Linked DNA regions of Homo sapiens: region 1 is linked to region 2. The links are contacts of gene promoters, found by promoter capture Hi-C in blood cells and fetal thymus (Javierre and others, 2016). All regions are on one chromosome and are shown on one strand. The core of a region is centred on a gene start or on the middle of the fragment in contact, and the rest is flanking DNA. Distances in the headings are between cores, read along the strand shown.

Region 1 (4,798 bases), core at 1,021-3,520, 110 kb after region 2:
TCTAGCTGAGTGAAGTAGGGGCAGTCACTTATCTGGGCATAATGCTGGGTACACAGCAGGTGCTCAATAATATTTATTGAGTAAATAAATAAAATGAGGAATTTAGTACAGCTGGGTCTTGTTAGCTTTATATTTATTTATTTATGAGATGGGGACTTGCTTTGTCATGCAGGCTGGAGTGCAGTGCCATGATCAGAGCTCACTGCAGCCTTGACCTCCTGGGCTCAAGTGATCCTCCTGCCTCAGTTTCCCAAGTAGCTAGGACTACGGGTGCATGCTGCCACGCCTGGCTGATTCTTTTAAAATTCATTTTGTAGAGAGGGAATCTTGCTGTATTAGGATATGGATATGAAGCTGGAAGTCATAAGATCTAGATTCTATCAGTGGCCTCCCACTAGTTGTACAATCCCTATTTCTTCATTGAAACTCTGTGGGCTTCTGGAGGTTTGCCTATAAATGAAAGGGTTGGACCAGGTCAGGGACAGCCAGTAGGGTTCCACTCAAATGCCAGCTGCAGTCAGCTGGCATGGCTGGTGGAGGAGCACTGTGGGCTGTGCTCAGCCTCCAAGGATGAGACCTGGAGGGAATAATGCTGTCCACCTGCTAACTGGCCCCGGGGGTGGAAGGTTACCCTCTAGACACTTGCATTGCTGGACTGAGTCATCTCTAAATCCTTTTCATTTTATGAACCTATAACCAAGAAGGGTTCTTGGATCAGGCAAAACTTAATTTTAGAATGAACTTGGGTAGCTCTGTGCAATTTCTGTGTTTTATGTCAGAAAGCTTTTTTTCCTGTGATCCTGGGACACAAGAAATAAGAAATTAAAGAACTGTATGTTGGGTGTAACCAACATTAGTTTATGGGTTGAGAAATAAATCTCTCTGGAAGTTCTCCTAGCATCTCTAGGAAGATTACTTAGTGCAATATTATTTCTCCCATTTTGTAGAGAGAGGATTTGAGTCATAACAGGTAGAATTATCTGCCTTAGGTCATTTGTAGGGCTAGACATATAATTTAGGTTACTTAACTCGCTTGTGTTTTCTTTCCCAGCAAAAGGAGCCACGGCTCATCCAGTGCATTTCTGAGGTCAGCCTTCACGCCTCGCCCTGTCCGTCCTCCTCACTCTCCCTGTGGGCCTCCATCCTGGCCGAGGTCGTGGATGTGCTGTCACTGGCAAACATTCATGGTAACCTGGCCCCCAGGAAGGGCTTAGTTTAGTCCATGTCACCACCCCATGACTCTCACCCCATTGAAACTTGTTTCCATTTAGAAGCATTAGCTGATCTAACCCAGCAACCTCCTAACTCCATGTTCCTTCATGCAGCCATCCTGGTGAAACAGGCAACTTGTGAGCAAATGTCTATTAAATGGGCTAAGTTCCATTTCCCCGGCCACTTTACATGTGAAACTGATGCTGTGGTCCCTGGGGAGTGATTTGTCACCCAGAACAGTCACCCTCTAAAATGTGCAAATGCTGGTCAGGTGCAGTGGCTCCCACCTGTAATCCTAGCATTCTGGGAGGCCAAGGTGGGTGGATTGCATGAGGCCAGGAGTTTGAGACCAGCCAGGACAACGTGGTGAAACCCCATCTCTACTAAAAATACAAAAATTAGCTAGGCATGGTGGCGCACAGCTGTATTCCCAGCCACTGTGAGAGGTGAAGCCAGCTGGACTTCCTGGGTCGAGAGGGGACTTGGAGAACTTTTCTGTCTTACAAGAGGATTGTAAAACACACCAGTCAGCGCTCTGTAGCTAGCAAGAGGTTTGTAAAATGCACCAATAAGCACTCTGTAAAAATGCACCAATCAGTGCTCTGTAGCTAGCAAGCGGTCTGTAAAATGCACCAATCAGCACTCTTTAAAATGGCCCAAACAGCACTCTGTAAAATGGACCAATCAGCACTCTGTAAAATGGACCAATCAGTGGGACTCTAAAAGTAACCACTCGTGGGGGATTGGGAAAAGGGCATTCTGATAGGACAGAAACAGGACATGGGAGGGGACAAATAAAGGAATAAAAGCTGGCCACCCCAGCCAGCAGTGACAACCCGCTCAGGTCCCCTTCTCCGCTGTGTGACGTTTGTTCTTTTGCTCTTTACAATAAATCTTGCTCCAGCTGGCTCTTTGGTTCCGTGCCATCTTTAAGCACTGTAACACTCACCGGGAAGGTCCGTGGCTCCATTTTGAAGTCAGCGAGGCCAGGAACCCTCCACGAACCCACTGGCAGGAACTAACCCTGGACACAACTGGAGAGGCTGAGGCACGAGAATCACTTGAACCCAGGAGGCAGAGGTTGCAGTGAGCTGAGATGGTGCCACTGCACTCCAGCCTGGGTAACAGAACGTTACACTCTCTCCAAAAAAAAAAAGGCGGGGGCCAAAGGCCCGAAGATAACAACCCTAGAAGCTGCAATGCCACACAGAGGTAAGGATGCAGGCCTGGAGTTGGATCTGGACTTCAGCCGTGTTTTTGCTGTTTATTGGCCTTATGACTTGGTTTCCTTGTGAGTAAAATGGGTACAATAAGGATGGTTGCAAGGAATAAAGGACAGAAGGCTCAGAAAGTACTTGTTATAATGCCTGTGCTATTATAGGGAGCCAAGAAGTATTTGTTTTCTCCCCCATTAAGAAAAAATGGCACAAAATAAAAACGTCACAATGTCATAAACCAAAACTTCCCAAGGTTAAAAATACTGGAGCACTCATGTTTTGTGTTTGTGTGTGTGTGTAAATTGTTTAGCATCACACAGAGGCCTCCAGAGTCCTTCAGAGCTGGTCAAGAAACTGGGTGACAGGGCCCAAAGGGAACTGTCACTGAGGAAAAGCCTTTTTAATAAACCACCCTAAATCCAAATCAGTATGTTAAACAAGAGGTAAACAGTGTTAAGCCAGGAGTGGTGCTAGAAATTCTTTTAATTGTTTAAACGCTCCACTTAGATGTAATTAATGGAAAGCAGGAAATGTCGCAACCTGAACAGGGAGACAGGATCCTGCTCTTGCCTGGGACGGACATCTGAGCCCGGTGCAGAGAAAAGTTCTGAAGAGTCCGGCGGCCCTTCTGCTGCGCTCCTACCTGTCCCGGGACAGGGATGAGGGCCAGCTGTCCTAAGAGGTGGTCTAGGTGGCCTGAGCAGTGTGACCCCTGGGATGAGGGGGTGAATATGGCAGCCCAGGGCCCCTGTCTGAGGACTGGCAATAGGAAGCCCAGAGCTCCTGGCTGAGGCCAAGCCCCTGTGAGGGTGGATGGAAAGAATCCGGGCCAGGAGGAGAGTGGTCCAGGCCAGGCTGCACCCCTGACTCATGGTCACCTTATGGCTCTGCTGTTTCCTCCTCTGTAACAGGAAGGCTTGGGATTAGGTGGACTTTAAGAATGCTCTGCATGAAGATTTTGTGGGGTTTCCATAGCCGCCAACCTTCCCAGTGACCAAGTTTTGTAGAGAGAATCGGGGGGTCCTCTGTGTCCCTGCCAGTGGCCTCTGCCCTCATTTTTGCAGAGGAGTCCAGATCTGTTCTACTTTAGCCCTCATCTGACAGGGCAGCAGCAGATTCATCTCATCAGTTAGAACATGCCCTATCCTGAACTCTCTCTCGTGAGCGTGGTGGGGGCAGGCGGGGTGGTCACAAAAGTAATTTTGGTGCAAAAGGAATTGCAGTTTTTGCCATCAAAAGTAATGGCAAAAGCCTCAATTAAGTAAGTGCTTCAACCTAATACCTCTTTTGAAGATGAAAAACTGAGGCTTGGAGTTTTTCCAATTATACAAGCTTTGCATTTAATGAGTTCTCAATAACAGTTGACCTTCTAACTGAAAGAAATGGAACTCTGCAGGTGAACAGACAAAAATCATGTCTTCGTCGAAATGTATTGGAGGAGCTGAAGAAAGGCTGCCATGAATGATCATGCCTGCTAGGCTGCTCTAAGCAGCTGCAGTCACAACTTGATGCTGAAAATTAGGTTGGTGTGCTCTGGAGAGCAATTTGATATGTGTATCAAGAGCCTTAAGCCTTTGACTTGGTAATTCCACTTTCTGAATCTACCATAGGAAATAATGGAACTTCTGACAGATTTCATAGAAAGCTCATTGCGGTAGCATTGTTTTCTAGGGTACATCAGCAGATCCCATCAGAAGGACCCTGTGCCCTGAATCCTGAGAGGTCTGAGAGGACCAAGCGCCCCAGTGCCCTGGTCTTTGCCTACAACCTCAGGGAGAAGGGGACTCACAGTGACACCAGACAGGCCCTGAACCCTGGGGGAGGAAGCTCTAGGGCCTCAGTGACCTTCCTGCCTCTACTGCCCTCGGCAATAGACAACTATCAGGACAGAGAATGCTTTAACTGATCAGATGAATCTGCTGCTGCCTTGTCAGATGGGGGCTAAAATAGAAATAAGTGTGATAAGAAAAGGAAAGTTCTATTTCTCACTTTCCTAAGCTGTAGACTGCAATTCACATTGCTACGCTTGAGATATGATGTTGCATGGAAAAAGAAAAGCCTGAGAACTTAACGTGATATGAGTTCAATGTGTAAACAACATACACATACATACTTAGGACAAAGATGGAAGAAAATTCATTTTTTCATTCAACATGTATTTGTTCCACATGTACCAGAATGTTGCCTGCAGTTATCACTGGTGGCAGGATTATGTGAGACTTATTATCTTTTCTTATCTTTATCTTTTTAATATTTTCTAACCTGAAGATATATTACTTATGTAATTACAAAAAATTCAAATCGTTTAAACATTTTAGTAATGTTAGTTTTTTCTCAGCTATGTGTGGTTGATTTCTTAAACCCATATA
Region 2 (4,969 bases), core at 195-2,694:
AATTTGTTTAAAAAACAACCAGTGGGGCAGGTGAACTGACCAGCGTCTTCCCAGCTTTAGTCACTGCAGTGGCAATGAGGCGCTCTCCACACCCCCAGTTATGTGACAGGCTAGAGCCCTGGTGTTCTCTCTTCAGAACCCCCCTCTCCTCCTTGGCAAGCTTCAAGCAACACCCCCAAAGACGCTGCTGGATCCAAACAACAGACAAAGCTCTCCACAGGAGCAGTTCTGAGCAGCACCCTGCAATTCTAAGGAGACTGCATGGGGGCAGGACATTTTCTTCTAGAACACTGGTTAGATTCTGCTAGAACTGGGGCAAGAAAATAGCTGTATGGCATAAAGTCTACTTGAGGGAAAAGAACAACCCGGCACGGTTACGTTCAATCAGACACTAAACAGAGTGCACGCCCACCCAGGGGACACTGAGGTCGCTGGGCCAGTGTCCCCGCCTGGTTGCAGGTCCCTAACCCCTCCGGGAGTGCAGAGCTGCGGGCAGGCCACACTCACCCTGACCCTTCCTGCTCCCCAGGAAGGGAGGTCAGCCCCGTTTGCAAAACACAGGATGCCCGTGACACCGGAGACAGGTCTTCTTCACCGACAGGAAGTGCCTTCTGGTGCCTGCACGTTTTAACTAAGATGTGTCGCCAATTACTTTTAATTACTGTCGTCCACGCTATTGTCATCAGCATTTCACAAGTTTCTCGGAAGCCCATCACGCAGCCCATACCCTGCGGTTCTCCGGGGACTTATGCATCGGCCCAAGTTGAGGGTTTGTCTGAACTGAAACCCGCATCCTAGACCTGGCTTTCTTCTCCCCAAATCCAAGGGGACACCCCGGTGACCCACAAAAGCTTAGAAAATCCAACACGCAGCAAATGAAACGGGGGAAAGGGGCACCGGCCCTCACTCTGGCCTCTTAGACACACGATATGAAACCTTCATAAAACCTGTTGTACAAGTCAAAGGGGACCACGCTGGGGTAAAAGTCAAACCAGTCCATCCTCGTTCCTCTGCGTACAGAGAGAGGGTCCAGCGCGGGCGGCGCCCACTGCCATCGGGCCGGGGCCGGGGCGCGTGGACAGGAGGGTGCGGATAGAGGCAGATCGGGGGCCCGGTCGCCCCACGTGCGGCCAGACACCCATCCCGGCCGCGCTCTGCCGGCTCTGATCCGGTGCCAGACAGGAGCGACAGGGGCGAGGTGGGGACCAGCCGCCGACCTCACCTGTTTTGTTTTCTTGGAGGAAATTCCTCCGCTGGGGGGCCGAGGTGGCACCGCCCGCTCGCCCCCCGCAAGACCCAGCCGGTCCGCGCCCGCTTACCTGCTCTGCGGCCGGCGGCCCTGGCGCGGGCTCTGCGCGGGGCGGCGCCCTTCGCTCCGGCTGGGCAGGCAGGTCGGGCTCGGGCGCCGCCGGCTGTCGGGCTCTCGTCGGGTTTCGGGTGAAGGCCCCGGCTCCCACCTGCTGCGCCTTTTAACCGCGCCCCACCCCGCCTCTGCCCTGACGCGGCTCGGGCGGGCTGCGGGAGGCGAGCGCTGTCACTCGACGAGCCCCCCGCCCCCACCTACCCGGGGCGCACTAGCCGCTGGGCGCGGACCGTCCCCCTGAGGAGCAAGGAGTGCAGGACCGGGGCTGTCCCTCCGGGGCCGGATGCGCAGAGCGGGGACCTTTTTCCCGTGGCGGGGGCGCAGGGTGGGGGACCCCTAAGAAGTGCACAGTGCGCGGGGCCCTCTTTCCGGCCCTTGGAGGGAACGGGGTACCGGGGATGCAGGGGGTAGGGCTCTCCCTCGGGAGCGCAGAGGGCGGGCCCAGCCCCCTCTGCACGGGTGCAGGTGTGGGGCGCCTGCTCAGGCCCTCGAGGGAACTCTTCCTCCCTAGTGCACCCGTGGGGAGCAGTGTGAGGGGCAGGCTGTGTTTTTGCCAGGACACATCCTCAGTCTTTCTGGGTGATCCAGCCTTCTCATAGCCCGCGGGGTGCACAGACCTCTCCTATAGGAGCCTGGAGGTTCTTTATTAATTAATGACCACTTAGAGGAGGTACAGGGGTTGTTTTTATTAATTACCTCCATCCTTTGAAGACTCCTCCGGGGAAGCGGAGCAGGCCTTCCTCGGGACAGTGCACCAGGAGAGACCACATTGCCTCCCCGCTTTTCAGTCAAGACTAGAAAGCTCAGGGCCAGTACAGGGAGTGGTGCAAGGGCTGGTGGGGTGGAAACGTTGGAAGCTATTTAGGCACCTGGCTTTACAGGTTCAAACCTGTCACGCATCGGACAAAAGATGTGTGACTTGCTTATTCTACAAAACTGTTCGGTAATTAAACGTCCCCACCTAAACCATATGCCACTTGTTGGGTCATATTCTCCCACGAAACAATTAAGATGTCTGTTAAAGGTCATGGAATTTGAGCCAAGACTTCATAAAAATCCGCTTTCCAAAATATTTTATTTGAGGAGAACAAGGTTCTTAAAGAATTTGCCCAAGTCAAGTTTTAAAAACTTTGGGGAGGCCCCTGAAATGGCCTTGAACTTGGAGAGTGGAGAGACACAGAAATCTCTAGGCTTTTTAAATTTATTTATTTATTTATTTATTTATTTATTTATTTATTTATTTTGACTAAGTCTGGCTCTGTTGCCCAGGCTGGAGTGTGGTGGTGTGATCTCAGCTCATTGCAACCTCTGCCTCCCGGGTTCAAGTGATTCTCCTGCCTCAGCTTCCCGAGTCGCTGGGATTACAGGCCCGCACCACCATGCCTGGCTAGGTTTTGTATTTTTAGTAGAGCTGGGTTTCACCATGTTGGCCAGGCTGGTCTGGAGCTCCTGACCTCAGGTGATCCACCTGCCTCAGCCTCCCAAAGTGCTGGGATTACAGGCGTGAGCCACCGCGCCGAGCATCTCTAGGCTTTTTTGTTAGACATCCTCACACTGCCCAGATGTGCCCTATGCGGTAAATCTTGGGTGCTCTGTCCTGCCCCACACAATCTAACTGTGGACTTCCCAGTCTTCTCTCCATTCCTCTCCCAAACAGATGCTTCAGCCAGGCTCAGCTGTTTGCATAGTAAAATAATTTTTCTAAGCAGATTGTAAACTTCTTTGGGGATTATAAACAGTTTAAGCTTTTCTTCCTCTTCTTCTTCTTTTGCATTTCTACAATACTAAGTACTTTGCTCATAGTATGTGCTGCTCCATGAGTATTTGAATATTGCTTGGCAAAGCTGAACCAGCATAGCAGATAGTCCTGGAAATAGCTTTTGCTTTTTCTAAAGCATGCCCTGTTCTCAATCCTGCACCTGATTCCATGCAGTACTGTGTCTGAGCATTGACATCCTGGACCAGTGGAAATTGTTCTAGGACTGGTGCAGGATAGAACTTTCAAACCAAAGTTGTCACAGAGAATGTGTTGCATTTGCTCATGTGTGCAAAAATGAAACCATCTCATCACTGTGTAAAATATCTCTTTTTCTGTTCAGGTTATCTATATTAGTCTGCATGGCCTTAACATTGAACACTGTCCTTCAGTTTTTGCTACTCATCAGACAGTCTTGTTGCAGCAGAAATTAAATGTGGACTGTATAAAACTTAAGGACTTGATGGGATGCGCATTTGAAAACTGAAAATTAGTTGTCTTAGTCCATTTGTGTTGCTATAACAGAATACCATAGACTGGGTAACTGATAAAGAAAAGAAATTTATTTTTCAGAATTCTAGAGGCTGGGAAGTCTGATATCAAGATGCTCGCATCTGGCGAGGGTTTTCTTGCTGTGTCTTCCCATGGCAGAGGTGGAGGGGCAAAAGAATGAGAAGATAGGGAAAGAAAAGAGAGAGAGGTGGGGGTGGAGAGAGAGGAAGGGGTTCAAACTCATTGTTTTTTCAGGAACCCACTCTCAAGATAACTAACCCACTCTAGAGATCACAGCATTAATCCATTCATGAGGGCAAAGCCATCATACCTCCTCACCTCTTAAAAGTCCCTCCCATCTTTCAACACTGTTTCATTGGGGATTAAGTTTCCAACACATGGACTTTAGGGGACACATTCAAACCATAGCATTCTGTCTTAGCCCCCCAAATTCATGCCTTTCTCACATGTGAAATACATTCATTCCATCCCAATAGTCCCCAAAGGCTTAACTCTTCCAGCACCAACTGAAAAGTTCAAATCCAGAGTCCCATCTAAATCAGATAAAGCTAAGACTCCAAGGCAGGCATAGCTGGCCTGAGGCAGACTCCTTTCCAGCTGTGAACCTGTGAAATCAAAACAGGCTATCTACTCCCAAAAGACAATGGTGGGGCAGGCATAGGAGAGATATTTTCATTCCAAAAGGGAGAGAGAGGCAGGAAGAAAGGGGTAACTGGTTCCAGCTACATCTAGAACCCAACATGCATGTGTTAGGCTGTTTTTGCATTGCCACAAATAAATACCCGAGGCTGGGTAATTTATAAAGAAAAGACAGGCCGGTGTGGTGGCTCACGCCTGTAATCCCAGCACTTTGGGAGGCTGAGGCAGGAGGATTGCTTGAGCTCAGGAGTTTAAGACCATCCTGGGCAATATAGTGAGACCTCATCTCTACTAAAAAAAAAAAAAAAAAAAAAAATTAGCTGGGTGTGATGGTGTGTGCCTGTAGTCCCTGTTACTCAGGAGGCTGAGGCAGGAGGATCACTTGAGCCTGGGTGATGGAGGCTGCAGTGAGCTATGATCTTGCCACTGTGCTCCAGCCTGAGCAACACAGTGAGACCGGTCTCAAAAAAAGAAAAGAAAAGAAATTTAATTCACTCATGGTTCTGCAGACAGTGCAAGAAACATGGTGCTAGCATCTGCTTCTGGTGAGGGCCTCAGCAAGTTTCCAATCACGTTGGAAGGACAAGGGAGAGCAAATGTCTCACATGGTGAGAGTGCGAGCAAGAGAAAAAGCAGGGAGGTGCCCTATACTTTTAAATAACCAGATCGCAAGTGAACTCATTGGTCACCAAGGGGAT

What was found. The method cuts DNA at HindIII sites, captures the fragments that hold promoters and counts their contacts. A CHiCAGO score of 5 or more calls a contact.
Region 1: a contact is called between a fragment that was not itself captured here and the fragment with the promoter of GJB6 in region 2, in 1 of 17 cell types (M0 macrophages). The highest score is 5.9, in M0 macrophages.

The regions. Positions count from the first base shown.
Region 1 is chr13:20,342,066-20,346,863 of GRCh38, forward strand. No RefSeq gene overlaps it. Among named protein-coding and RNA genes, the nearest start is that of MIR4499, 89 kb to the right of the region's middle. The HindIII fragment of the contact is 2,978 bases long and covers 782-3,759 here.
Region 2 is chr13:20,230,875-20,235,843 of GRCh38, forward strand. GJB6 (gap junction protein beta 6) reads right to left here and starts at 1,445. Exons shown (of 5, transcript NM_001110219.3): 1 at 1,320-1,445; 2 at 508-631. The HindIII fragment of the contact is 2,257 bases long and covers 850-3,106 here.